Linked DNA regions of Homo sapiens: regions 1, 2, 3, 4, 5 and 6 are each linked to region 7. Evidence: promoter capture Hi-C in 16 types of primary human blood cells and fetal thymus (Javierre and others, 2016). All regions are on one chromosome and are shown on one strand. Each heading gives the region's core, a stretch centred on a gene start or on the middle of the fragment in contact. The rest is flanking DNA. Distances are from core to core; before and after follow the strand shown.

Region 1 (3,784 bases), core at 560-3,059, 370 kb after region 7:
AACTCACCTATAAAACAAATGTCATCTGTGGTCACCACCTATCTTGAGGGGAAAAAGTCAAAAATATATTGGGCTGCTCTTAATGTGATTGACAATTTTAGCAGATTTGTTAAATATTCATATGATTCTCTGGTGGGAAAGACATCCTGTATTTACATCAGTGAGTAATTTTTCCTATTGCTGCAATAGATTATATATGAGAAACAGTCTTACCGATCTTGCAAGTAACTGAGAGCTTATGGAAGAAAGATGAATATTTTACTGAAAAGGATGCAAGCATTCATTATATGAGAAGCCATGTAACTGATGTATATCATCTCTAACATCAATAATTTATATAATGGAAGGTTCAGTTACTGGAATTTGAAAACATCCATACACTTGCCTGAGTGTACCTTGTGTTTTATGTGTCCTAGGATGGATTTTTGTGGCACTGTCTATGTTAGCCCTGTCCTATGCAAAAATCTGAGGAAGCAGTTTTGATGTATAATTAATTATATTTTCTAACAACATTTAACTAGAAAACTGTTAAAAATGTTTGCCCACTTATCACCTAAGATTATCGGATATATCACCAGTAGTATGCATATCACCTTGGGAAACACTCATGGGAAAAGCACTGTAACTGCAGCCAAAATACCTAAATTCAAATTATGGTTCTGCTGTTTAGTAGTTATGCCACCTCGAAACATTAGTTCACATTTCTGAGCTTCTGTTTCATTTTTAAAAGGAAGAGCAATAAAAAGGATATTTGGGGATCATCTGGAACACCAACATATAATCAAATATTGCCACATATTTCAAGGTTTGTGTCTGCATTTGCATCTTCATATAAGCCCAGTGGAGTTCAATGAAGTCACAGGGAATAGAGTCTTCTTAGTAGTTCAGACAGAGAAAAATGGGGGCAGAACTGAATCATGCCAAGGCATTCAATAGCACACGCAGCTGAATTCAAAATAATCTGCACTTAAGGCATCAACACTATATTCAGGAGTTTCAATTCCTTAAAAAAATATGAATAATGCATTTATGCCAAGAGAAGACTCAATGATGTTGCAGCATAAATTATCATTGCAGAAGAAAAGTTTTGTCCTTAAACTATTAAAAGAATTTAACATGACCACAATAACAGTCATGGGTCAATTGCCACTTTGACATTAGGATATATCAAACTTTATTATCAATACATTAAAAATCAAGCACTGTCACTTAGGGATCACTGGGTGACAACATAATCATAAATGCACATGTAAATGAGCACTTTTAAATCTCACTGAAGTATTCTATATGTTCTAGAATACCTTACATCTGACTTTTAGAATATTTTCAAAATGAAAATATAAGATTAAAAAATTCTGATTGGAAGATTTAAATATCAAATTTTTTCCTTATTATGACATCAGTACTATCATAATGTCAGATTTACCCTCATCTTACTCTTACACAATTACCTACATAAAAGATGTTTTGTAAGACATTTACATATGAAGATATGTGATTGATACAGTCACCATACCATACAGTTAAGTTGTAGGCTAAATATGTGACCAAGAAAAAGAAAATTAACACAGGCCAGGAACAGTGGCTCACGCCTGTAATCCCAGTACTTTGGGAGGCCGAGGCAGGTGGATCACGAGGTCAAGAAATTGAGACCATCCTGGCCAACATGGTGAAACCCCATCTCTACTAAAAATACAAAAATTAGCTGGGCGTGGTGGTGTGCATCTGTAGTCCCAGCTACTCAAGAGGCTGAGGCAGGAGAATTGCTTGAACTTGGGAGGCGGAGGTTGCAGTGAGCCGAGATCGCACCACTTCACTCCAGCCTGGCGACACAGCAAGACTCCATCTCAAATTAAAAAAAAGAAAATTAACACAAAAAATTACAACTCGTAACTAGATATGAAATATTTAAGACATTTGTCAAAGGCAGGCAATCTTCATCTTTATGTTGGTAGGAGTTTTCTGGTTCATTCTTGGCCCTCAAAAGATGCATGAGTGTAGTCCTAGAATGGGAAGTATCTCCCATTCATACAGTTGTGATTAATGAAAATTTGGGCTTATTCACCCAGGCCTTGTGTAGACCTACTCCATTGATTAGAATACTTTTAGCAGCAAAAACAGATAATCCTCATTCATTTTGGCCTTCACAAAAAAAGGCATGTATTTTTCCCTATAATAAGATGTTTGGAGGTTGGGAATTTCCATGTATCATGCACCAGGTCCAACTCTTCTTCTTTGTGGTTCTCCTGGTAGCAAGATGGCTGCAGCCATTCAAATTCTAAACATGGCACTCAAACACAAAAATACTCAGAGATAGGAAAGGGATTGCTTCTCCTAGGCATATTTCTTATTTTATTATTATTATTATTATTTTTGAGATGGAGTTTCACTCTTGTTGCCCAGGCTGGAGTGCAATGGCTTGATCTCAGCTCACTGCAACGTCTGCCTCTCAGGTTCAACAGATTCTCCTGCCTCAGCCCCCCTAAGTGTCTGGGATTACAGGTGCCTGCCACCACATCCGGGTAATTTTTGTGTGTGTGTATTTTTGGTAGAGATGGGGTTTTACCATGTTGGCCAGGCTGGTCTCGAACTCCTGACCTCGGGTGATCTGCCAACATCAGGTGATCTGCCTACCTCAGCCTCCCAAAGTGCTGGGATTACAGGCGTGAGCCACCACACCGGGCCCCCTAACGTGTATTCGTTAGAGGCAAGAAAAACTTTTCCCAGAAAAATCTCAGTCATGTCCACCACATTTCATTGGCCAATAATTGGCCAAAAATGCTCACCTCTAAATAAGTGACTGGCAAGAAAATGGGACCAACACCAGCAGTTTAAGCCAACTATGACTTAATTCTGAGCAGGATTTTGGGTTACCATCCAATGAATCACTGAGACAGAGGTGGATCACTGTGAGCAAGAAAAAAGAAGAAAATGGATACTAGATGGGCATAAATAAACAAATCATGCCTTCCACTCACCAACTGGGCATTTTAACTAGTTAGCCAAGTTAAAATTGATAGAGATTTAACTATATTGTTTTTCATACCTGAGGAGGTTGTCTACTCTCTAATAATCAACTCATTTATTAAATTTTTTTATGATTCCATGTTTTCTCCACTCTTGGTTGGTTAGCTATATTGGGTTGAATAATGTCCCCTAAAATTCATGTCCACTGGAAGCTCAGAATGAAACCTTATTTGGAAATAAAGTCTTTGCAGCCTCCATTAGTAATTGGTTTAAGATGCAGTCATATTGAATTCAGATGGATGCTGATCCAATGTCTGGTGTCCTTATAAGAAGAGAAAACAGAGACAAAGACACCCAGAAGAATGCCACTGATGCAGACAGGAATTGGAGCGAAACATCTACAAACCAAGGAATGTCAAAAGAAGGCCAAAGATTGCTGGCAACCACCAGGAGCTAGAGAGGCAAGAAAGAGCCTTCAATCACTTTGGTTCTGCCGACACCTTGATTTCAGACTTCTAGGTTTTAGAACAGTGAAATAATAAATTTCCCTTGTTTCAGGCTGCCCAGTTTATGGTAGTTTGTTATGAAAGCTCCAGGAAACTAATACATTAGCTACCTCTTGGTCTTATTTTTTAGGGGATTGCTTAGCGTTTACAATATTTTTAACTCACCACAGTCTACTTTCAAAATATTATACAATTTCAGGTATATTTTAAGAAATGTACAACTGTATACTTAAAATGTTCCCCTCCCATCCTTTGCACTATTCTTGTATTTTATTTCTACTTATGTTATATACCCCAAAATATATTGTATT
Region 2 (3,789 bases), core at 76-2,575, 280 kb after region 7:
TCCTAAAGTGCTGGGATTACAGGTGTGAGCCACTGCGCCCAGCCCAGTTTTGCTTTGAGATAAATTATCCATTATACCAGGGCTTACTATAGCTCACTCCTTAGATTCATGAATTTAGCATAAATAGTGTCTTAGCTTTTACTGACTGTTTCACCTGTGTTTTATCCTATTAATTGAATTCTTAAGGTTTCCTTTTAAACTGAAATTCATTTTCTCCCAATTTTAGAAGAGATACAATTTTTTGGAAAGTCTTCTCTTCCTTCTCTCCTCCCCAGTTAGCTTATCTCACATCAAGTTCATGGGGCAGGAACTGGATCTAATTCTATGTACTACTTCATGCCAAGCATGTTCTTGGCATTCGTTGAATGCCGATTACTTCTACAGGCCACAAAAAATAATAACAACAATCTATAAATACCTTGGCTTCCTGCAGTTGAGAGGAATTAACCACACTGCAATTAAGGAAAAGCTGGAGAAAACATTTAGTTAGCAGCTTCTCAAGGCAGACAATAAGATTAAGGTAATAAATACCAGTTCCAACATATTTCTTTGGAGATGTTTCATAAAATAGTCCAATAAAATGCTAAAGACCACCCAATGCCACAGCAGAATGCTAACCACATATGAGTCACTCAAAAGCCAAAATTGAACAGATTCATCTATCATGTAAAAGGGATAGAAGAATAAACATCAACAATTTATACTGCTGCCAGATTATAAAAAGGAAAGCTTGTTATAAAATCTAGTTCACATAAAATATCACACTTTTAGAATAATAAGACAGCAAGAGAGTATGATTTCATTCATAGACTTTTAGATAAAACTATAAATGGTATCTGGGTTTAGGCACAATGGTAACCAAGACGGGTATGATATCTACAATAATTGGTCCTAGGCAAGAATCAATAGATAAGACAGATAAAGGATAAAATATGACAAAACATTTGTTAAGATTAGAAGATCTTCTGAGGCAACTTAGGAAAGCATTACCAACACAGTGCATCTAATAAAATAATGACTTGTCTTTGTTAATACAGTTTAATTCAAAATTTCAAAGATTAAACCCAAGAATATAGACAAATTAAGCGTACTAATATAATAAGCACACACCTGGAAAATATTTTAGGTAAATGGCTGCTACAGAATGAACTCAGATGGGATATGAAGCAATGGACCCAGAAATCCCAGCCAACACGTGATATTGCAATATTCCATCATTTACTATCACACTGGACCTCACTGATGCAGAAGTTTCCATTAGGCGCCAAGTCAAAAGAGATCACAAAAGAAAAGACAAGTAAGTGTATAGCTCTGACAGAAGAGCCAGAGCAAACAAGGAAATTGGGGCACATGCAGGCAAAGTGGAGAATCTCAGCAAGAAGAGAGCTCTGGTTTCAGAAACAGACCTTTATCCATGGCACCCAGAACACTGGTAACTGGGGAAAACTGAAGGAGTGTGGAACCTGGGAGGGGTCACTCATAGATTTGCAGGGCTGGAGGAATCAATATGGAGACCTGTGGGTTGGGAAGCTATGCTATAGATTCCTATTATGTCATCATCAAAATATTTTATACCAATAACAGTTTCAAACCAAGTTTACTACTACTTTCCATATTGCTTTAATGAGCTAAGATTAGGCTGAGCAATTATTAAGTGCTATCATTAAATAATAATCATCTGATTGCCGTGATCTCACTTTATCAGATAATCCTGTCCAAAGGCAATTCTCCTGTGTTTCACTAGACCTGAAGGTCACGGAGAAATCTCTGTATTTTTTTCTTGACTTTATCTTTCTACAAAGATCATTTCTCCTATGAGGATCTTATCGAGGTGGGTAGAAAATTATTTTACATACTAGCATCACTTTGTATCCATCTACTCTAATCTCTCCAGATGTAAATCCTCCCATCACAAGCTTCTTCCTATGGATTCTCTTGCCTGGGGAGGCATATTTGAGTTGCATTTCCTCCAATGTGCGTCACCTTCCCAAAGAATCCAAGGATGCCATCAACTTCTGTTAGAGGGAGCATTATGTTTGGTATAGCACATCCGGTATTTGGCAGAGTCAGGAGTCCTTCACCCTCCCAGGAACTGTACTTTGAAACTTCCCATAATCCTCCACTGTGATCATAATGTTTCAGCTCACCTTCCAGGCAGGCCTAGGAATCACATGTCTGGGACACACACATGCCATTATCACCAAATAGATTTCTTGATAGTCATTTAAAGGACCCTTCACTGTGCAGTTTACAGTTTCAAAGTATTTTCACACATCTCATTTGATCCTGGTGACAATCCCATTAAATAAGCAAACAAGGTTGCTACCTCTGTTTCACAGTTAAGAGGCCTAAAGATTAGAGAACTGTAGATACTTGCCCAAAGTTTGACAGCAGTACAGGGAATAATGCCAGACATACTGACTGAGGCCATATGTAAAATCATTTTCTGTCTACCTTGGTGCCTTCTCCTCCTCTCTTTATCTTAATCACATCCTCCCAACCAAAAAGAAAAAAAAAATGCCGCCTTATAACACTGGAGCTCACAGAATGGTCCAAGAGGCCCATAAAACGGGCTGTTTCAGCTGAGCTTGGACAGCAGCTAAATCAAATCACCTTTGAATACTTTCCAACCTCCCAGGGAAATGTCCCTGCAAGGACATTGCACTTTGGATCAGTCTGTTTACCAATCTAAATGAGAGCCTCTTTCCATGGGAAATCACAGACTTAACTATTCCTGGCCCACATCCCTCAACAGCTAATATAATAAAGACCCTAATATCTCTGTGCTCCCCTTTCTGTCCTATTGTGGCTTGCTGCATTATTAAAATGCAGCTGATTCTGTGTCAAGTGACAAGCCACAATAGGGCAGAAAGGGGAGCATAGAGATATTAGGGTCTTTATTATATTAGCTGTTGAGGTATGTGGGCCAAGAATAGTTAAGTCCATGATTTCCCACGGAAAGAGGCTTATTTAATAAAGTTATTTTAATACAGTTATTTGCTTATTATATATGCTTCCTACTGCACTGAGAGCCCGCAAGACTAAAGATTCCTTGAAACTCGAAACCTAGCACCTAGCACAGAACACAAGCAAGCGTTCAAACATTCGATCAAATATAAAATACGCAGTAGTTCTAAAGGGTCATGCTTTTCACTATATTCACTGGCCCCTGCTGTACAAGTTTGAAGGGGAAACTCCTCCATTTGCAGAAAATGGTAAGAAAATAGGAAAGCATTTCTGTTTCACTCACAACTAAGTCTTTTTTCTAAACCTGTTTGCCTAAGTTTCAATTTTCTTTTATCCATAAAAAGATGGAAGGGAATTAAATTTGTAGATGCCAAATCTGGACTACCCGACCTACTTGATCCCAATCCAAAAAATCTGTTAGGTCTAGAGTAAGGACTGAGAATTAGTAACATTTTTTAAAATTCCTTAGATGATTCTGATGATCAACAATCCATTCACCCACCAAATGTTAGGGTACACACTAAGCAGTTTTTATTCTAATAAAACTGATGTGTCATCTGCCTGGCTGACTGCAGAGTCAAGTTTTAAAATGCTAGACTAGGTGACTTCTCAGCGGTCTCATTCTTCTCTATAAAAAGCCTCTAGAAAAGCCTTTTCCTTGCCTTAAATAAGTCTTACTCTGATGGGAACCTCAGCAGAGATGGCCTAATGTACTTGTCTGTTCCTCCTATTCTTGGGAGGTGGCAAGAACAGGGCTTTCAGCAGGTGCCAGCATAGTCACAGGGATACTGCCTGAGAAACAGAGCAGGGCAGCTGAATGCT
Region 3 (4,394 bases), core at 500-2,999, 500 kb after region 7:
GGTTAGAGGAGTAAAGTGTGATGTGACAGATTTGCAAGATGTTAAGGGGACTGAAGGAGAAATAATTTGAAAGTTGTAGTGGGAAGCAAGGATACCACCTGCCCTGCTGCAGACTTTGAGGTACATGAGGAAGGGGAAAAAATCAGGCTCTAATTTAAGAAGTATCCTCAGAGCAAGACTGTTAAGAGAAAAGGCTGAGGATGTAGCATGGTACTTGAAACACGGTATATATTCAATCAATATTTCTTGAATTTGAATTTTGATTTTTTAATAGGACTTATCCTAAAAAGGGAAGTTTTTAAAAAGACTATTTACAAAGAGTCTGAAACAGATTAAAAAGACAATGATCCTCTAATGACTGGATTTTTCCAAATCCATGAAAGGCTCCTCTTCAAAAATCAGTCACCTGGCCAAGATAAACATAGTCAAACAGCATCTTGTTGGTTTTGGCTTAATATAAAGATAGCTCACTGTTACAAAATAAGACCAGGCATTCTCTTGCATAAGAACCCAATATCAGAAGAACAAAATTAAGTGAATTCTGCCTTGATAAAGCTTAGAAAATAGCCTTTCTGAGCATAAGCTGACCCTTTGGTCTATTCTAGTTTAGGCAGAGAAACTTAGGTACCTATAGATTGAGTATAAGTGAGACTTCCTAAATACATTCTTTGGAATGTAATAAAATGCACTTTGGAATATATTCTTCTTCAGGTAGTAAATGATTATTCCATGAGTAACTTCAAAGGTATGTCTTTACTGAAGAAAGAGATGTTCTTCTCAATGTTACTGTTTTTCTTAAACTTATTCTGAATGTCTTTGTAAGGCTAAGTAAATATTGTAATTTTTATGCTTTAACAAAAAGCCCATTTATGTTTATGTCTATGAAGTTACTTCCTAAGCATTTCTAATAAGCTGTCTATATACAGATCATGAAATTCTAAGGTCCTCTATGGTCTTAAAATGTATGATGAATACCACTTTTCCCCTAAAGACTAAATTTTATTGAAACTTATCTGGAATCCCCCCAAAATTCTAGTGTTTTGTTTTATAATTGTATTTGAAGGTTTAATTATATTTATCAATCAAAATGTGAACTGGTTCGACTGCAGGTTAGTTCAAAGGGCTTTTCGTTTCCATCTTCTTCATATACTGAGGTTTTTGCTACCAGACAGAAAATTTACTAGTACCTACATTATGTGAGATACACAAACTTGAAAAAGATGGCCAACTCTCCGATTTTCAATATAATGTGTCAGAGAAAGCAATTAGTCAATAACATACACTGTGCTCATTTATAATCCACAACTGGTAATGGGAGTGAGTTATTTCACTTCTCCATGAAGAATCAAGCTGAAAGTAATCTCTTTTCACTAGATTTCTTAGTACCTCACATATTACTTACGTGACTTTCTCTTTGGAGTACAGTGATTTTTGTGCTTGTCTTTTTTTTTCTTCTAAACTATAAGCAGGTATATTATGCCTTAACATCTGTGCATTATATTATTATTTGTATTTTGTTTAATGTCCAGGGCTAGTAATATAACAAAATGCAATAGTAATACTATCAGTGTCAAACTCATCAGTATTATCAATTAAACATAAACAGGCTTCTGTGGCATGGTCTAGGATGATATCAACATTTAGGTAACACAGGAAACTGCTTTGAGTTCCAAAAATCTAATTTACAAATTCACTGTCAGAACACAGCAGGGGCTTCTTACACTACATTTATGACTAGAAGGGTCGCAGATGCAAGTCTGTAGAGCAGTCAAGATGCTAGCTTTTCCAATTTTGTAAGTAAAAGAAAGCTACTTTTTCTTTTAGGGATGTAGTAATTTTTTTTAAAAGAATAATGGATCTTAAAAATAATAAAACAGTGGAAAAATGTTTCAGAAATAATGTACGGATATATACTCATTTAACTGAACATTTTAAATGTCTTTGAACTAATGAAGAGAATCCTGGTTAAACAAAGAAATCTCATATTGTTCATACATCAGAATTTCAACTTACCATTTATGTTTATTGCTGGTAACACAATTGACATTTTTGGTCTTGTGGTCTTGTTATGGGTGGTAGCTGGTAACAGCAGGTGATCCTAAAATTAACAAAGAACAATCTGTTATATATAACAATTGGCTTAGTCCTAGAACAGGCCAAATTCAGGGCTTCTAAGAGGTCAATATTTCGTTGGGATGATGAAAAATTATAGTTTTTATTTGAAGTTGGCTTAATTAACTACAAACCAGCTTAGAATCATTCATTCATTAATGTAATACACATTTACAGAGTGTCTACCGTTGTCAGGCACTATGCAGTGATCTTGGAAAACTCCTAGGTTTTTACAACACATATGCTGTAGCACCACTATAAAGAATACTGGTCAAGCAGTCAAGACAAGGGATTTTAATTCTAATTCTGCCACTAAATAGCTGTATAATCTGGACAAGACTACGTATCCTTTCTGTGTTTCAGTTTCCAGTCCTGTAAAATGATGGGGGCTAGACTAGATAATGTCACAAGATACTGAGAGTATCTCCCCTAAACAGTCATTCTCAAACTTTTTTTTTAAAGGCAATAAACTCTTTTTCCCATCAAAATTCTTATCCCAGGAATTTTCTATCTGTAGAAGAAAGAAATTATCAACATGTACAAGAAAGATTCTGACTGAAGCAGGGCCAAGGCCTAGAGCCTTGCCTGCTTAGCCTCCTCTTCTCCCTTTGAAGGGACCACAGAATTAGACATTTATTTGCAAGTGACAGGTGCATGCTAAAGAAGTTGTACAGTTTTTGCCCTTAAAAAGCACACAGTTTGGTAGAAGAGTTAAAGAATTATAAATACATGCCTAGCACAATTGTATAGTCCTACACTGTGCAGGGCATCTGAGGTTTCTAATTTCCAGCACACAAGTACTAAAAGTAAGAATAAGCCAAGAGAAGCTTGGCTTCAGAAAAGGCAGAGTATAAGTGTTTTGAAAAATGTATATACATCTGTAGGCATTCTAAGGCTGATTATAAATGACTTATGACTTTGATATTAACTACTGTTTTCAGTAACTCCTCTTCTTCCTAGCAAAAACATATGAACTGTTACAGAAAAAAGAAAAAAAGAAGTATATTAGCATTTCCATTTAAGGGAGCATGGTTAAACTGGAGATAAAACTAAACCTAAGTTTGATGCATTTTGCTTTCTTTTCTTGTTCCTGTGTTCATTGTTTCACCATTCATTCAACAAACTTACTATATGAAATAACTCATCAAAAAGTAGGATCTGATACAGCTGAGAGCAATAAAAATTCAACACAACTTCAAAGTTCAAAGTTGATATGATTATGAAGTGTGATTATCAGCAAAACTAAGAAAAAAATCTAAAAAGTGAAAAACAAATTGAAATTGATATACATGAACAGAACTGTGTAGAAAACATTTCCAGTAACTGCTTGTATTTTGTGTAATTCAAGGCAACATTTCCATGAGAACATGTTTTTAAAAATTGGGGAGGAGAGAGAAGATGAGTAAATTCTGTTAGAATTCCAGCATTGCAGCAAGGGAATTTTTTGTTTTGTTTTTTTAAGTGCATTGTTAGACACAAAGATCACACATTTCTGATTAAGATAACATTATAACCAAGAAAAAACAGAATTTGCTGATCTTCAAGCCATGAAAGTTATACATAGCTTAATTCCTATCATTAAAATACTGCTTCAGGGTCTCTAAATTGAATGTGAAAACAAACCAAAAAACTTGCAAGCCCCAAATTAAGGCTATTGTAAAAATAAACAAACTTAGATTCCACTGGTCATGGGTTAAGGTCAGGCTCAGACTTAATTCTGAGTTTCCTGCTAAGATACAGATGCCATACTAATTGTTGTTTTTAAACATGATCTTCTGAACACAATGTCTCCTACTTTTTCTTTTCACTAAATTTCTAACAAACTAGTTACTTTTGCAGCAGAAAGCTAAAAACTAGGTATGATTTATGAAAAAGAAGAATCATATCTTGCATGCATACGAATTATTACAGTTAACCTGCCTTGTCTCTAATTATTAAAGGTTTGCAAACTGGGGTAACAGTTTTTAAGTACTTGTTTACCAAGAGGCCCAAAAATCAGACTGCAGGGAACCAAAGCTGGTATACTACCAACTCTAACAGTACATATCTTATAATAAAAATAAGTGTCTATATAATATATACATTTTATCTATCTTATCTATATATCTGGGACAATGTAGTTAACTTCATTGAATATTTACCTCCACTTCCTCAAAATAAATGTTTCTTGAACCTCACAACAATGAATCCTGAATCATTACTTTCTCTCTGTGTTCATCTTACTCTTTTTCAGATCATTAGTACTGTGAGTCACATTTTCAGAAACAAAGGAGCTGTAATCA
Region 4 (3,974 bases), core at 609-3,108, 300 kb after region 7:
GACAATTCCTCTTCCAAGAATCCCCTCACAAAAACCTACAACAACTCCCAGTTCAGTTGGCCTGGAACCCAAACATCACAGATTCTTACCTTCTTTAAAAAAAAAAAAACAGAGCACCTGAGGCTCAAAGAGGTGAAGTAATTTACCCATCATCACATAGCTAGGGAGTCATTATTTGAAGTCAGAAAATGACCACCCAATTTAGAGTCATGGTATACTGTTTTATTTTCCCTTATACACTTACAGTATCTGAAATTAGCTTGTTTAATTTGTATACTTGTTTATTATTAGTTTCCTTCCTCTCCCTCTACCACATCTCTAACAACCATTACTAGTTTTGTAAAGCTCCAAAAGAGGAGGGATCCTGTCTGTCTTGTTCACTGCCATAGGCTCAGTACCTAGAACAATGCTTACTTGGCAATCTGTAAGTGAATGAACAAAAACAAATGCAATGAAACAAGCTGCTCCTTCTTCCATGAGGAGCTATAACAAGGAGACATAAGAATCTTGGCCATTATGGGACCTGAAGTTAACTCATGGATATCAGTCACTGTTTACTGAAAAGCCACTTAGAGCACTTGCAGCACTTAGACCATCAAGGGACAGACAAATGCAACAGGAGATACCATCCCACCCCTACAACAACTTCCGATTTAGTCACGGGGAGAGGTCACATAGACGCAAACGATGACTTAAGCATACCTAGGAAGCAGAAATACAAGTGAATATGACAAAATCTAGACAGAACACGATGCTGCAGGTAGGCAGGTCCCGATGAGACCACTGGGATTGACTTTAGCCCTTATTATGTCCTAGCAAGGAAGGTTGTTGAAAGAGGGGCTGGACAACCAAGGCAGATGATGCATCCAATTTCCCAGATTAATTTTCAAAGAGGACAGATTATCAGATGTGATGATATTTTGTATATGTCAACTTGGTTAGGTTACAGTCCCTGGTTATCCAAACACTAATCAAGGTATTGCTGTGAAAGTATTTTGCAGATGTGATTAAGGCCCATAATTAGCTGGCTTTTAGGGAAACCATCCAAGATAATATATGTGAGCCTGATTCAATCAGTCAAAAGGCCTCAAGGACAGAGCTGAAGTTCCCCTGAAAAAGAAACTCTGCCTCTGGACAGCAGCTTCAGTTTGTGCCTGAGAGTTCTGCGTGAAAGCTTGCCCTATAGATGTTGCACTTGTCTAACGGCTCCCACAGAGACATAAGCCAGTTCTTTGCAATAAGTCTCTTCATATATATATCCCCTATTCGTCTTTGGTTGAACCCTGACTGATACACCAGCTAAACAGGGTGATCTTGTCCTGCTGGAAAATAATATGGCCTCTTTCTACACTGGGGTTTTAGAGTGAAAGACACCACAGTTCTTTCCATTCAAATTAAGTGTTTGTTTATAATCCAAACACTGTGCCACCTTAAACTGAAACTACAAATGAGCAAGGAAGCCATATTTACCACACCACCACGGGAAACATTCTCCCATTGTTGTTATTGTGTTTTTCTGTATAAATTCTGGGTTTTCAAACTTTCTGTAATAACACTGCCTTTAGAATCATAAAATTGTTTTTTTTTTTAATTCTCTTACCCAGGAAGGGTGCTCAAGAGCAACTAGAGGCAAGTGCTCTACTGTGGCTGCCCTCCTTCCTAAGAGGTGAAGGATGGACAGGTAAGAGGAGGAGATGGTTTGGATTTGTGTCCTCTCCCAAATATGTCAAATTGTAATCCGCAGTATGGGAGGTGGGGCCTGGCAGGAGGTAGTGGATCATAGGGGCGGATTTCCCCATTTGGTGCTGTTCTGGTGATACAGAGTTTTCACAAGATGTGGTTGTTTAAAAGTGTGTGGCACCCCTCCCTACCCCCACCACTTCCTCCCGTTCCGGCCATGTAAAGTGCTGGCTTCCCCTTTGCCTTCTGCCATGATCATAAGTTTCCTGAAGCCTCCCCAGAAGGCTAGCTGATGCTGCCATGTTTCCTGTACGGCCTGCAGAATCATGAGCCAATTAAACCTCTTTTCTTTATAAACTACCCAGTCTCGGGTGTTTCTTTACAACAATGCAAGAATGGACTCATTAGAGGAGGTGCCCTCATCAGCAGCCTTTGCCCGACAACACATTCCACTGTGGGGCTGCCAGGACCCCACTGGGCCGCCAGACACACTTCTGCAGGCTTGAGGTGTGGACGTCCTAACAACCAAGTCATGCCTGGACTGCCTCCAGTAATGCTCCAACAATTGTGCTTACTATGGGAACCAACATCCCCCATAACCTGCTTGCTGTCAGACTCATGCTCCACCTCCTGCCAGGATTATCAGGAGAAGAGGTGTAGGCTTCCCCTCAGCCTCCTCTCTAGAAACCAGGGATCCTCATCTCTGATCCTGTCAACTTAACTCCCTCAGTAACCCCCTATCCCCACCACCCTCTGCCTGATATACCCACTGACCTAATATACCTATTCAGAGATGCAGCCCAGAACTGCAAACAAAGCACAGGCACTGAAGCCAGGCATAATGAAGGAGCTCAGAAGCTTTAGAGGGAAATTTCACCTCTCTGAATTCCCATATCTTTTTATTGCAGACTAAAGCAATTCACCCCATAAAGTTGTTATAAAGAACATAAATTTATGCAAAAAGGTGCTATTATGGCATTGACATGCTTATAATGCTAATATACTCAGTCTATGGCATATGCACATCTATATTTGAGGGAGTTCTTAGGGCAAATGATTTAACCAAAGCAGTAAAAGTGAGAAGGAAAAACATATCCCTTTTTCAGAAGTGACAGCTTCACACTAGTGGCAAAATTGATCAATAATCTATCTATAAAGTGTCTGTCTTTTAAATGTGCATCCATGTCAGAATGTCTTGGACTGCAAGCTCTGAGAAGTCAGAGCCTGTCTAAAAGTCCAAATATGTTCCTCATGGTGCAAAGAACTGGCAATGAACATCTTTGAATGATCTGACAGCAGGATGGGCCCTCCAGGGAGCCATTGGTCTAATCCCTTCAACTTGTTTAGAGATAAACCAATTGGAACCCAGAGGGGTTTGAAGAGGGGGCCAAGGCTACACAGTCAAAGCCCAGTAACAAAGGAATCAGAACCTAGAGCCAACTCTTGTATACCCTCCACTAGAGGCCAGGATGCTCTTAACGTGAGATGACAACTCAAGCCTTCTTTTCCAAGCCTTCTTTTGTTGGCTTCCACAGACAATATATGGTACTTTTGTTGGCCATGCCAAGTAAAAATGTTAAAGTACAGCAAGTCTTCGGAGAATACAACTAGTTCCCAACCATCAGAGAGGGAGGTAGGCTGATGACAAGGAGGCAGATCTGAGAAGTGTGATTACAGACAGATGGTACCAGTTAGCTAGAAAATGTAGAGCTGCATTAAATAAGGTACCAATAAAAATAATAGGGATCCCAGAGCAACTCAGTGACCACAGGCTGCAGAACAGTGAGAAGAGTCGGAGCACGAAGGAGCACTGGCCTGAGCGGTAAACCAGTTAGGAACATAATTTGGGTTTGAATATTTCATCTCCCATAAATTGTTACCAACCACCACTGCCATGGACTGCCACCCTGGCAATGAGGCCCTGAGGACTGCAGGTTGGAAAGCCCACAGAGATGAGCTAGTCCAACTCTTCTTCCAACACTAACCCGGCTTGACTCATTTCTGCAATATTCCTGACCAGGGGCAGAGCAGCTTCTCGATGACTGTGAGGGACTACATCAGCATTCCAAGACATCTATTCCATTTTTGGCCAGAAATATTCTCCTTGTATTTGGCAGGCATTGACCTCTCTGTATGTCATCCTTCAGGAAAGCCTCTGACTGCAGCAACTTTTTTGGTAATAAGGCCACACTGTTGATGTTGCTTCTACTTGATGCCGTTTAAGACGCCAAAATCATTTTCACACATGCCATCAAGCCAGGTCTCAACTACTTATCCCTGTCCTACTGTTTTGA
Region 5 (4,368 bases), core at 1,005-3,504, 380 kb after region 7:
CGTAAAGGCCTCCACAACCTGGCCTCTCACTCTTTCACTAACTTCATTTCCTCTCACTCTTCGTCTTGTATTTTACACTCCAGCCTCTGCCTACATCACAACCTTCATATCTTGAAATCCCAGTCCTTGTGGTCCCCTTGGCCTGGAATGCCCTTCTCTCCTCCTCCACACCTTCTTTCCCTGACCCCACTTCCCTACTTCTGTCCCTCAGGCACCATTGTCCTTTACCTGGCAAACTCCTGCTCCTCCTGGAAGGTCCCCCAGAGCACCCTGACACCACTCTCCTCCCATAGACAGTTGGATTGGGTGGCCATTACCTTGGCCATCCTGTCAGTGGGCCTCCACAGTGTCTGGCACTTGTCCATTTATGTGTCTCTCTCAGGAGACTGTGAGATCCTTGAAATATTATCTTGAATTAATTATTATTAATGTCTTATTCATTCATGTTTCTTTAGTGTCTAACTCAGGACCTGGCACATAGATATTATACTCAATACCTGAGTGGATTTCACTTCAATTAGCTTTAAACTTAAATTTTATTATGTAAAGCTTAGTTTAATAAAAAGAAATTACCATGCTTGGCGTATGAGGAAATGCAAATTGTTCTTAAAACTGGGGAAATTCAGAGAAGGAAAAACTTATTTTCTTTGCTAAAATATCTTGAGGAAAAACATACTCTTCTGTACCCTTTCCCAGGATCAAACATTTATAATCTTTATAACATGAGTTCCTGAAGGCAAAGGTTTTTTGTCATCTTCATCTTTGTGTATTCAGCAGTTCACAGAGTGCCTGGCTCATAATATATATATTCAATAAATGAATTAAACTGAATTAAAGGAGAGAGAGAATGTAGAAGATCAGAGGCAAAATAAGAAGCCAGGAAAGCAGCAAAGCAGGGTGACCAGGGGAAAAAAGACCTCATTTTCAGTTGTGCTTTCCATCATTCCTTTCCAGCATTTTTATGGCAGTTCCCTGGCACAGCTCCCACTCTGCAGCGAGCCAGGGAAAGGAGATGGCAGAATGATGTTGCTCGTGGGACTTTGCCTTGCTCTTTGATTCTGCTGCCGTGGGGCAGGTGCATTTTCTCAATTACACACAAAGGTGGCAGGCCATTTCTAGCCACCTTGGCCCCACCTGGCAAATGAAGCCTTAATTTTCAACAGACAGACATTTCAGAGCAAAGTCAGGAGGCTCCTAGGTAAACGGGAAAACAGATGCTCTTGCCAGATGCAAACTGGCTCGTGAGGGATGGTGGTTGTGGTTGCTGAGGGATCCCCAGAATTCAACAACCTGCTAGCCAGCCACAACTGGTGAGGTCCAGGGTCTAAGATAGATGAAGTGGCACACTTACGGCTTTCTGAGACCCAGTTCTTGGAACATTTCCACAGTCTGTCCGTCTCTAAACCTGTTTCCTCATTTGTAAGAGGAAATGATACTGACTCAGGGGATTTCTGACCGTCAAATGATGCCTGGCACATGGGAAGCACTCAGTACAGAGTCGCCATCATACATATCACTGTGTTGGTGCTTCAATGACTTCATCTGTTAACCAGGGAGGGCAAGACTTATTTTACACCATGATGCGAGGATCCAGTGACGTGGAATTCATAGGCTCTGAGCAAAAGATGCAGGGATTTTTATGTGAATTTTATGCCGGTTTCCTCTATCCTGTGCTTTCCAGCTATGTTTTTTTTTTTTTTAACACAAGTAAAAAGCACTTAACCCAATTTGCTAAAGCCAAACCAAGCTCATCACAGAATCATCAGTTCAGGTTGCCAGGCAGGCAGGTAGAAGCAATGCCATGAGCAGTGTATCTTGATTTCTGAAAGACAGTGATAAAAGTCTCTCAAGAAATGCTTGTAGACATGATGAAGACATGTGGACTAGGCACCAACACCCATGACTGCCTGAACAGTCATACACCAAAACGGTTAACATCAATAAGGAGAGACTTTTCCTATTATGGAGGTAGAGCTCTAGAATATGGCCCTATCTGAAGGAAGATGGCTTTTTAAAATTAATCATTTGAACTAAGACAGAAACTATGCTTAGTGAATTTGGAAATTATGCAAAACCAGGACAAAAGCAAAAATAGCAATATTTCAACAGGATGAAAAAATGGACCAAAATCATCACACTGTTACAGTAAAAATGTAAACACCTATACTTGGATTAAAAAAAAAGAGAGAACATAGCTGGAAAGCACAGAATGGAGGAAACCAGTAAAAAATTCACACAAAAATAAATTTAAAAACTACACTTAAAAGATAAATCAGTGTGAGTCGTTGGTGCAATCTGGCTGCCAAAACTAAGGTAATCTTAGGCTGCATTAATAAAAGCACAGTGCCCAGAAAAAAAAAGAACAAATTGTTTCAATAGGTTCTAATATCTACTCAAACTGGAGTCTTTCTAGAGAGAAAATAACCAAAATAATGAAGAGTTTGGAAGGCCATGTGGTTTGAGAAACAGTTGAATATAATGGAGATAAAAGATGAAGAAAGTGGGCTAGTGATGTTGAGAAAGAGGATATTTAGAAGGTACTTAACCTTTTTTTTTTTTTTTTTTTTTTTGACAGAGTCTTTCTCTGTTGCCCAGGCTGGAGTGCATTGGTGTGATCTCGGCTCACTGCAACCTCTGCCTCCCCGGTTCAAGTGATTCTTCTGCCTTATCTTTCCAAGTAACTGGGATTACAGGCGTGTGCCACCAGGCCCAGCTAATTTTTGTATTTTTAACAGAGACAGGGTTTTGCCATGTTGGCCAGGCTAGTCTTGAACTCCTGACCTCAAGTAATCCACTTGCCTCGGCCTCCCAAAGTGTTGGGATTGCAGGCGTGAGCCACCATGCCCGGCCAGTACTTAACTATTTATCTTTAAGTGAAAGGAATGAAACTCTCCGTGAGAAAGTCCTTAGACATATTCTGTGTAGGACTGTAGGACTGGACATTAAAAGGTGACTTTAAAAGTAGACCCTAAAGGAAATATATTTTAGTTAGATAAGAGAAAGGACTCATGGTCATAAGATGGCTGCCACAGCTCCTGGCACTTTTGAAACAGCCCCTATAAACTTTATAAAATTAACCAGGGAAGAAGGAAAGGGAAGAAATGAAAATAAACCAAGTTCACAGCACATTCAGCAGTAATCGTGAGGTCTACTTGCTCTCTGACCTGTTTCCTCATAGTTACTCTGTGCCTATTGCCTCAGAATCACATAGATCCTGTTAAAAGATTATAAAGCCCCTTAACTGTTCTATAGAAAACAACTTGAACATTATGAAACATTATGTTTTCCCTTTGAGATACTCTTTTGGGTCCTGCATACTGATGAAGCTACTGACTCAGCTAGTTTGAAGGACCCCATGAGATCCTGACTCACCAAAGAAGGCAGTTTCCACATCCTGATGATAGAACTTTGTTCCATCGTCTTGGCCCAACCAATTAATAACCTCAATTTTTTAGCCACTCACTCTCCACAATCCCCTTAAATTAAAACGCCAGCCCAGAGCTCCTTGGAGAGATGGATTCAAGGGTCTCCTCCCATCTCCTGACGTGGTGCCCTGCAATCATCAAATTCTTTCTCTGCTGCAAACCCTGCTGACATAGTGTAATTGGTCTGTTACTGCACAGCGGGCATAAGAACCTGTTGGTCCTATAACACTTTGACTGTGGTCAAAGACACAATCAAAGACAAGAAGTGAGGGAAGAGTAGCACCAGAAAGGTCCTCTCTCCTATTTGTTTCTTTTATCAGGAAGCAAAATATCTTGTCCGGGTGGTTACCCCTAGCTGTAAAGGAGACTGGGAAATTGAATGTCTGGCACAGGGGTAGCTGGGACTTGCTTAAATCAATTATGACTAGGTCAAAAAGCCAATGCTGTAAGAATAATGGAGTGGAAAATGGAAAGAGCTTGGGTCCTCGCTGACATCACTGAGTTGCTGAATTAAATTTTAAACAGCCAAGCTTGTCTTCTTAGAGTGGGATAATAAATGTATATTTGACTGAGACATTCCTAGAAGGATTTTCTATCACTTGCAGTCAAATGCACCCTAATGGATACAGAGATGGTATTTATAAAGGTAACTGAGCCTACACCCAGTTGGACAATTCGTAATTTCCATTCATTCAACCAATATTTATTTAGTGTCCACTTTGTTCTAGGCACTGGTTAAACTCTGAAGATGTAATGGTGAGCAAAACTAACAAGGTCCTTGCCCTCTTGAATTTATAGTCTGGTGGGGAAGACAGGCACCCCCAAAACAACCCACAAAGGAGGAATATAAATATCCATCTCTCCTGCTTCTATGAAAAAGAGGTACATGGTATTATGGGAGCATTTAATAGAGAAATTATGCTGGTGGTGGAGTCAAGGAAGG
Region 6 (3,804 bases), core at 8-2,507, 320 kb after region 7:
AACTCATGGATGACACTCAACAAAATTTGGTGACAAGTTATCGGAGACAAATCACCAATAGCCAGTATGATATTGATGTCTATGTGGGAACAATCAAAGGGAAGCAATGGGGCATATGATGAACCTGAACCCAAAAGAGCCAATAGGGTAAACTGGAGAACTGCCGCTGAACCTGGAACAACAGGGGACCCACAGGAGGTTCGAAGGGCTGGAGCACTCAAGCCACTAGGAACTCTCAAAACTGATTGCCCAGGACAGGACTCCACACCAAGAGAAACTGCTGGGAACAGAATCAAAATGAAGCAGGACAGGCAACAGAGACAAAGAAAAGAGAAGGCTCAGGTAAAAGAGAGAGATGGAAACAGAACTACCACATTTTTTAAATCTCCATGAAAACAAGAGATTTTTAAATCTCCATTTCTCTGTGCAGTTAGAAATACTACCAAACCAACCCTCCTTTTTAAAATTCAGGAAAACTAAGTTTACATAAAAATTAACAACAGAAAAGTAACAAGGTCAAATCCATAAACATTTCTATAAAAAAAGAGAGAATAAGGAACAAAATAACATCCTTAGAAATATGTGATAGTGAAAGCATGCCAAAAAGACATATTTTTAAATAAGCTAAAAATACTTTAAATTATGCAAGGCATGAAAGAACAACATAAATTAGAATTAGAAAAATTCAGAAATAAAGTGACAAAACTCAAGAAAGCAAAGTAAAAAAAGAAAACTATTTTAGAGATAAAAACTAAACTAGAAGAAATATAAGAAAAAATAAACCTAAAAACTGCCTGAAACTTAGGGAAATTTTTTAATTAAAAAGAAATAATAGGAAAGAGATCAAAGGGATTTGAAAGTGACAAACATCGAAGATAGGCAAACAAGAACCAACATATGGATAAGAGTGGTTCCGGAAGAACAAAACCAAAGCAAGGAATATAATTCTAAAAACAGTAGTCTGTGAAAACTTTCCTGGAAAAAAACTATTTGAAACCTGATATTGAAAGAACATATTGTTTACCTGAGAATACTGACTCAGAATAATATCAACATATACTCTAGTAAAATTCTCAGACTTTTTTTTTTTTTACAAAAGATAATTTAGGCAGCATCTAATTTTAACTGTATACAAATTATAAGGAAAAGAAAAATTAGATCAGATTTACAACAAGCTTTATGCCAGAAGTAGATGGAATAACACTTAAGATTTTTTAAAAAATGTCAACCACAGATTTAATATTCAGCAGTTTTGACCTTTCGCATACAAAGAGCATAGATAAAATGTTATCAACATTCAGAAAAAAAAAATCAGGGAATATTGTTTCCATAAGCTTTTCCTAAGGATACTAGAGAAGAACTTTGGATAATCAAAGTGACTAGAAACAAGAATGTAAGTTTTGGTAGTAAGTATTAAATATGTAATTATTGAAGAACTAAAAACTAAATGAGGGTTAAAAAGGAAATATTATAATGTGTAATGACTATATGATTGTATTAGTTAACTAGGGCTGCTATAACAAACTATGACAAAGCTACAGGCTTAAGACAACAGAAATTTATTTTTTATAACTCTGGTGAACAGAAGTCCGAAGTCAGTTTCACTGGGCCTAAATCAAGGTGTTGGCAGGCTGCACGGCCTCCAGAGGCTCTAGAGGAGAAACTATTCCTTGCCTCTTCCAGCTGCTGGAGGCTGCCAGCCTTCCTTGGCTGTGGCCACATCACTCCAATATCTGCCTCTGTGGTTACACTGTCTTTTCCTCTTCTGTGTGTAATCTCCCCCTCCCTCCCTCTTGTAAGGACAACTGTGACTATATTTAAAGCCCACCCAGATAATCCAGGATAATCTCACCATCTCAAGATCCTAAACTTAATCACATATACAAAGTCTTTGTCATGTAAAGTAACGTTCACAGATTCCAGAGATTAAGACATGAATACTTTTTGAGGGACCATTACTCAGAGTATCACAATAATACAGTATAACCATTTTAAAAGATGGTGAAGGATACAGATGACATATTTTTTAAAAGGTTTTGGACTGTTTTCAGTAATCATAATTGGTGCTGGTGTTTGTACTACTATTCTGAGATTCCTAATTGTGTAGTGTAGGATAAAGCAAGTGAGTAATTATGGAATATTGGATTCTGTTATTCCCTATGTATTTGAAAACCAGAATTCTCAGTGTGGACAAAAGATCAGATGAAATACAGAAGTAGTTAAGATATTGGAAATATCAGTATGAACACACAAGTATGTTTACATCTATCACATTCATCCTTGCTCTTTCCTTATGTGTAGTTTCCCAGCTCTGTTCACCAAAAAAGACCTACAGACAATGGCCAACTCAATAAAAATTAGCATCCCTGGTGCCAAGATAATGGTCTTGAAATACAATTTTGCATTAAAAGATACCAGGTCTTCCTGGAGAAATGATTGATTCCAGGTCTGAGACACAAAATACACAAGGAGTGGAAGAGAGATGAAGGGGAAGGAGAATGGCGAGAGGGAGAGAAAATCCCTGATACCAAAAGAGGTATCGGTCTCCAGATTGTATGTATTCATAAATTCATAATTCATAAAGACGTTACCACAGGAAGGGGAAGGAGGTGCTGCTCAGCCCTGGACACACACACACAGTCTGGACACACAGCTAGCAGTGTCCAGCCAAATGCTTAGTAGTATGAGGAGGCCTTTGACCTACAGACTGAGTAATCTGGCCTCAAAGAGGAAATCATCACCATTGTTTGGGGGCACACCTCAAACCGTCTTGGCCTGCTGCCATTAAACATTCCCAAATACCCTTCTGATGGAGATCTGTCCCCCTCCTCACCACCACCCTCCTACCTGCAGGGAGATAAGTGCTGGTTTTGTATCCCCAAGTATATCCAGTAACTCTTTTCAATTAGGTTCCTCATTGTCAATCCATAAAAAGAAATTCTGGCCTCATAAATCAGGCTCGATAATCTGAACAACCCAGTTCTGCTCACAAATGTCCTTATTCTGTGTACACATCAGCAGTTCTTATGGCTGCACATGGCAAAATCACCTGGGAGCTTTTAAAATTACAATGATGATAGGAACCCAGCCTGAACATATGAAATAAGAATCCCTAGGGGCAGTGGGTATCCATGTTTTATAAGTTCCTCAGGTGATCCTATGGTGCAGCAGGGTTGCAAAGTACTGTTACATGAAATTAGGTTTCTGAGGCAGCAAGGTTAAGTGTTAGCCCTCAAACAGTCAGCAACAATGCCGGCTTTTAAGCCCAAGACCCTGGCTTCTGGGACAACCCCTGGGGCTCTCAAGCACATATAGGCCTCTTCCTGCTTGAATTTCTACAGAAATCCAAGATCATAACTAAATCTTTTTTATCCTTTGCCTTTCCGCAGAATTTGACCCTATAGAGTTCTGATGCTTTTCAAAATACTTCTCTTTTGGCTGCAATAGGGTAAAATTAATGACTAGACTTTAAAGGATTTTTTTTCACAGAGCAGCAAAAGGTATAAATATTTGAGAACATAAGACAAATAATGGATAAATCCTGCTTATGTGTAGTTACATTTGAACAACATATTGATGAACAACTAAGGGAAGACAGAGATCACAAGTTTTCTCCTCCCACGCCTCAAAGAGAGAGGGCACTTTACACAGTCCAGGAGCATGTGGAATGCTGTGCAGTCTGGCTGTGTTCTGGCTGTTTGCTTTAATTGATCTGTCAACCAGTACATGGGCATTAAGTAATTGGGATGTGACTTCACTGGGTAAAGGGGGATGGTCTGCAGAATACATGGGAAGAATCAAATA
Region 7 (4,253 bases), core at 1,687-4,186:
CTCTTTTCTTATACTGAAAAAAAATCTTGATTCTAGAATTTTCCCAGGACTCATCTGTCTTTAACACTGAAAGTCGTAGATACTGGGAAACCCCTCAGACATAAGCAAACTGGTACAGTTGTTTACCTTACTTAGTTCTTAAAATGTTAATATCAGTATGATTTTTGTTTATCTTATAATATGAGTTAAATATATTTAAATTACACCAAATTATCACTAAATTTATTTGCTAGTTTATTTAATGTACAAGATATTTAATTAAAACTGTTCACTCAAATTCTACATTCTAAAGTCAGTTGAAATAATTTTCTTTATGATTATATTACCAAAGTAATGTTCAGTTAGATACATTATTTTAGTTTTTATTCCTCCTTTTAGGAATACCCTTTTACTTGTTTATTTTCAATGTGTAAAACAATTATGGCCGGGCGCTGTGGCTCACGCCTGTAATCCCAGCACTTTGGGAGGCCGAGGTGGGTGGATCACGAGGTCAGGAGATTGGGACCATCCTGACTAACATGGTGAAACCCCGTCTCTACTAAAAATACAAAAAATTAGCTGGGCGTGGTGGCAGGGGCCTGTAGTCCCAGCTATTCGGGAGGCTGAGGCAAGAGAATGGCATGAACCCAGGAGGCAGAGCTTGCAGTGAGCCGAGATCGCACCACTGCACTCCAGCCTGAGCGACAGAGTGAGACTCTGTCTCAAAACAAAACAAAACAAAACAAAAAAACAATTACATGATTCTACATTCAAAACTCCACAGCAGGCTGGGCGCAGTGGGTCACATCTGTAATCCCAGCACTTTGGGAGGCCGAGGCAGGCAGATCACTTGAAGTGAGGAGTTTGAGACCAGCCTGGGCCACATGGTGAAACCCTGTCTCTACTAAAAATACAAAAATTAGCTAGTCATGGTGGCACGTGCCTGTAGTCCCAGCTACTTGGGAGGCTGATGTGGGAGAATTGCTTGAACCAGGGAGGCAGAGGTTGCAGTAAGCCGAGATCACACCACTGCACTCCAGACTGGGTAACAGAGTGAGATTCTGTCTCAAAACAAAACAAAACAAAAAACCAACAACTCTACAGCAAGTTTTACTGAGAGAAGTCTCACCTCTATGCATGTTTCCGCTCTCCTCTTAGAGGCAGAAGTTTTTAGTTTTAATTAGTTTTAGTTTTGTTCTTCCAGTGGGTGTTTCGTTTGTTTTTTAAATATGAGCAAATATTATAAATGTATATATTTATTTATATCCCCCATACTCTATATACTATTGTGCATCTTGCTGCTTTCACCTAAAAATACATCCTGAAGATTATTGCATATCAGCATATAGAGATCTTCCTCAATCCCATTTTATTATTCTATAGTAATATTCCATTGTATACATGAATCACAGTTTATTCACCTGTCCCTCTATTCACAAGTCTTTGAGTTGTTTGTAATCTTTTTCTATTAAAAAATACTACCTTATTCACAAGTCATTTTCTAATTCTGCCTGTGTAGTTTTGTGACAGATTTCTAGAACTGAGATTGTTCTATCAGATGGTGAAGGCATACATAAATTTGCAAGATATTGCCAAACCATCTTTTACTATAGTTGTAACTATTTTTTATTCCAACTAATGATATACAAGATATTCTATTTTCTTTCACCATGACCAACCCAATAAGCTTTCAAACTTTTGATTTTCACCCATATGATAGGTGAGAGTTGTTATCTCAGCATGCAGGTAATTTGCATTTCTTTTATTGTGAGGGTTGGATTTTGAAACAGCAAAAAGGGCAAGGAAGCCCCTGTGATGACCAAGAGCCTGAGCATGCTTTCAGTTATTTCCTCTCTTATGTCAAAAAGCATCTTTACACCACGATTGTGAATTTATTCACAAGAAATACCAAATTTCTTCTTTCATTATTAACAACTCTGTCTTCAACTGCCATAGTTTCCAGAGAATTGAATAATGAATTGTCCAAAACCACAGAAGAAAAGTTGCTATTTGAGAGCATATCTGTCTGATAACGAGTTCCCTGATCAGTGAAACTGCACTATGCCAAATGCAGAGTGGGAATTCCAAGGAAGAACAAAGATCTGTTACAAGGAAGTTCCATAGAAGATACACCCAACTGTGAGTAAACAGCTGGTAAGCAAAGTAGCAAGGTGAAATAAACATCTAGGTTAAGAAGAAGTTAAGATCTCCAGGTACTACGGAGATGAAGAAAACAAAAAAAAGAAGAAGTTAAGAGAAGTAAAGATGAATCGTTAGCACATAGTTCTATTTTCATAGATAACATTTTTGAGATATATATAGTGATTTTCTGTAGATATATGAGTATACCCAGATATCCCTCCCACCTACACCAGCCCTTTCTCCAAAAGGAACAATGCTTGAGGGTGTTCAAATGGCCTTTTTTCACCAGTGGCTGGGAGCCTTAGCCATGGAATGGGCTGTCCTCATCCACAGTGTCCCACTGTTTTTTATTGCCATTAATGTCTTCCATTTTTAGTGTCATTTGATCCACGGAAATCCCACCCTTTCAATTTTCCCATTGTATCTGAGCATATCAATTCTCTCAGCATCCAAATGGTTTTTGAGCACCCAGTCTAAGCTAAGCATAGCCCAATCCTAGGCAACTTCAGCAGAAAATGGGTACCATTACAGCAAAAGCAGCGGTGTGCTTCCTGGAAAGGATACCAGTAGCCAAAGAAGTTGATGATAGTCCATGGTAATATACAAGGCTGCAACACAGTTCCAGGAAGCTTGACTTCAGCATTGCCTCCCTAGCCATGAGCATCACTGATTCCATTGTGTGTTTAAATGTGCTTTACCTACTTCTGTGAGTCACATGTGGGCCATTTAGAGGGTGAAAAGTGTTGGTCATTTTATCACCCCGCCCTCCTCATTTCCTGAATCTTGTGAAGCTGGCTGAGTCCCACAGACCGCTAGAGGAAGAGGTAGCTCCACAGGAGGTACAGCTGCTTACACATCTCTCCTCAGAGCTGTCCCTTGACTTGGGGGTGAATTTCAGGCCAACAGGGCTTCCTGGGATACAAGAGCGTTCTCCATGGATCTGCCTTACTACCATGGACGTCTGACCAAGCAAGACTGTGAGACCTTGCTGCTCAAGGAAGGGGTGGATGGCAACTTTCTTTTAAGAGACAGCGAGTCGATACCAGGAGTCCTGTGCCTCTGTGTCTCGTGAGTAGCCTCATCTTGCACACATCTGACATCGTATGTTGAATGTGGCAATGGCTGCCACACAGTACAGGAATTCATATCCCTCAGTATTTCACTCTGACTTTGGAGTCTCAATGAGTAGAATGAGAAGTAATGGACACTGCCAGGAGAGGAATGTATCTGTCCATGCTCCTCCATCTGCCTGCTCTCCCTGGTGTAAAGGCCCTGCAAGCAGACTCTGCAGCAGCAGGAGGGACATGGTGGTGGTGAAGGGAAGGGCTGCAGGAAGTACAGGGGTACAGAGGGATGGAAAGAAGGTACAAATGTCAGAGGTCCTGTCCTCCAGAGATCTGTTTATTTGGTATGGAAAAGGCTAGGGGTTCTTCAAGAAATTTCAATCTGAAACACTTATTCTGCAGCATCTGCTTGCAATACGTAAACTATAAATACAATCATATTTCACATTTTGTTAGATTTGTGAAGGACTTCAATATTCGTCATTTCCTTTCATCCTAGTAGTCTATCAAGGCAAGCATAAGCAGTCACCATTTCATAGGTAAAGAAACAGAGACCTGAATTTCTCAAATAATTTGTTTGTGTTAAAACTCATTTGGAATTTCCAGAGTCTAAGTTAAACATGAAATTCCAGGCTGGGCATGGTGGCTCATGCCTGTAATCCCAACACTTTGGGAGGCTGAGGCAGGTGAATCACTTGAGGTCAGGAGTTTGAGACCAGCCTGGCCAACACGGCAAAACCCCATCTCTACCAAAAATACAAAAATTAACCTGGTGTGGTGGCGTGTGCCTGTAATACTGGCTACTTGAGAGGCTGAGACAGGAGAATCACTTGAACCCAGGAGGCAGAGGCTGCAGTGAGCTGAGATTGCACCACTGCACTCCAGCCTGGGCAATAGAGTGAGACTCTGTCCAAAAAAAAGAAAAAAGAGTGGCTGGGCACAGTGGCTCACTCCTGTAATCCCAGCACTTTGGGAAGCGGAGGCAGGTGAATCACCTGAGGTCGGGAGTTCGAGACCAGCCTGACCAACACGAAGAAACCCCGTCTCTACTAAAAATACAAAATTAGC

What was found. The method cuts DNA at HindIII sites, captures the fragments that hold promoters and counts their contacts. A CHiCAGO score of 5 or more calls a contact.
Region 1: a contact is called between a fragment that was not itself captured here and the fragment with the promoter of SH2D1B in region 7, in 7 of 17 cell types (M0 macrophages, M2 macrophages, M1 macrophages and 4 more). The highest score is 20.9, in M0 macrophages.
Region 2: a contact is called between a fragment that was not itself captured here and the fragment with the promoter of SH2D1B in region 7, in 2 of 17 cell types (M0 macrophages and endothelial precursors). The highest score is 5.4, in M0 macrophages.
Region 3: a fragment that was not itself captured here is called in contact with the fragment with the promoter of SH2D1B in region 7 in 1 of 17 cell types (M0 macrophages); the score reaches 7.1 in M0 macrophages.
Region 4: a contact is called between a fragment that was not itself captured here and the fragment with the promoter of SH2D1B in region 7, in 3 of 17 cell types (M0 macrophages, M1 macrophages and erythroblasts). The highest score is 5.8, in M0 macrophages.
Region 5: a contact is called between a fragment that was not itself captured here and the fragment with the promoter of SH2D1B in region 7, in 5 of 17 cell types (M0 macrophages, M1 macrophages, megakaryocytes and 2 more). The highest score is 7.9, in M0 macrophages.
Region 6: a fragment that was not itself captured here is called in contact with the fragment with the promoter of SH2D1B in region 7 in 4 of 17 cell types (M0 macrophages, erythroblasts, monocytes and 1 more); the score reaches 8.6 in M0 macrophages.

The regions. Positions count from the first base shown.
Region 1 is chr1:162,044,311-162,048,094 of GRCh38, reverse strand. No RefSeq gene overlaps it. Among named protein-coding and RNA genes, the nearest start is that of OLFML2B, 22 kb to the right of the region's middle. The HindIII fragment of the contact is 3,967 bases long and covers 1-3,784 here.
Region 2 is chr1:162,130,464-162,134,252 of GRCh38, reverse strand. The region is part of intron 1 of NOS1AP (nitric oxide synthase 1 adaptor protein); the gene reads right to left. The region is part of intron 3 of LOC105371475 (a long non-coding RNA gene); the gene reads left to right. Among named protein-coding and RNA genes, the nearest start is that of MIR4654, 25 kb to the left of the region's middle. The HindIII fragment of the contact is 1,187 bases long and covers 732-1,918 here.
Region 3 is chr1:161,910,000-161,914,393 of GRCh38, reverse strand. ATF6 (activating transcription factor 6) reads right to left here. Exons shown (of 16, transcript NM_007348.4): 15 at 2,014-2,098. Among named protein-coding and RNA genes, the nearest start is that of OLFML2B, 110 kb to the left of the region's middle. The HindIII fragment of the contact is 2,384 bases long and covers 558-2,941 here.
Region 4 is chr1:162,111,533-162,115,506 of GRCh38, reverse strand. The region is part of intron 1 of NOS1AP (nitric oxide synthase 1 adaptor protein); the gene reads right to left. It overlaps LOC105371475 (a long non-coding RNA gene), which reads left to right. Exons shown (of 4, transcript XR_007066699.1): 4 at 1,605-1,640. Among named protein-coding and RNA genes, the nearest start is that of MIR4654, 44 kb to the left of the region's middle. RefSeq lists an enhancer at 3,944-3,974. The HindIII fragment of the contact is 1,364 bases long and covers 1,177-2,540 here.
Region 5 is chr1:162,026,002-162,030,369 of GRCh38, reverse strand. No RefSeq gene overlaps it. Among named protein-coding and RNA genes, the nearest start is that of OLFML2B, 4.3 kb to the right of the region's middle. The HindIII fragment of the contact is 3,406 bases long and covers 552-3,957 here.
Region 6 is chr1:162,087,658-162,091,461 of GRCh38, reverse strand. The region is part of intron 1 of NOS1AP (nitric oxide synthase 1 adaptor protein); the gene reads right to left. Among named protein-coding and RNA genes, the nearest start is that of NOS1AP, 20 kb to the right of the region's middle. RefSeq lists an enhancer at 1-69. The HindIII fragment of the contact is 159 bases long and covers 1,178-1,336 here.
Region 7 is chr1:162,410,819-162,415,071 of GRCh38, reverse strand. SH2D1B (SH2 domain containing 1B) reads left to right here and starts at 2,936. Exons shown (of 4, transcript NM_053282.5): 1 at 2,936-3,189. The coding sequence starts at 3,056. The HindIII fragment of the contact is 13,514 bases long and covers 2,753-4,253 here.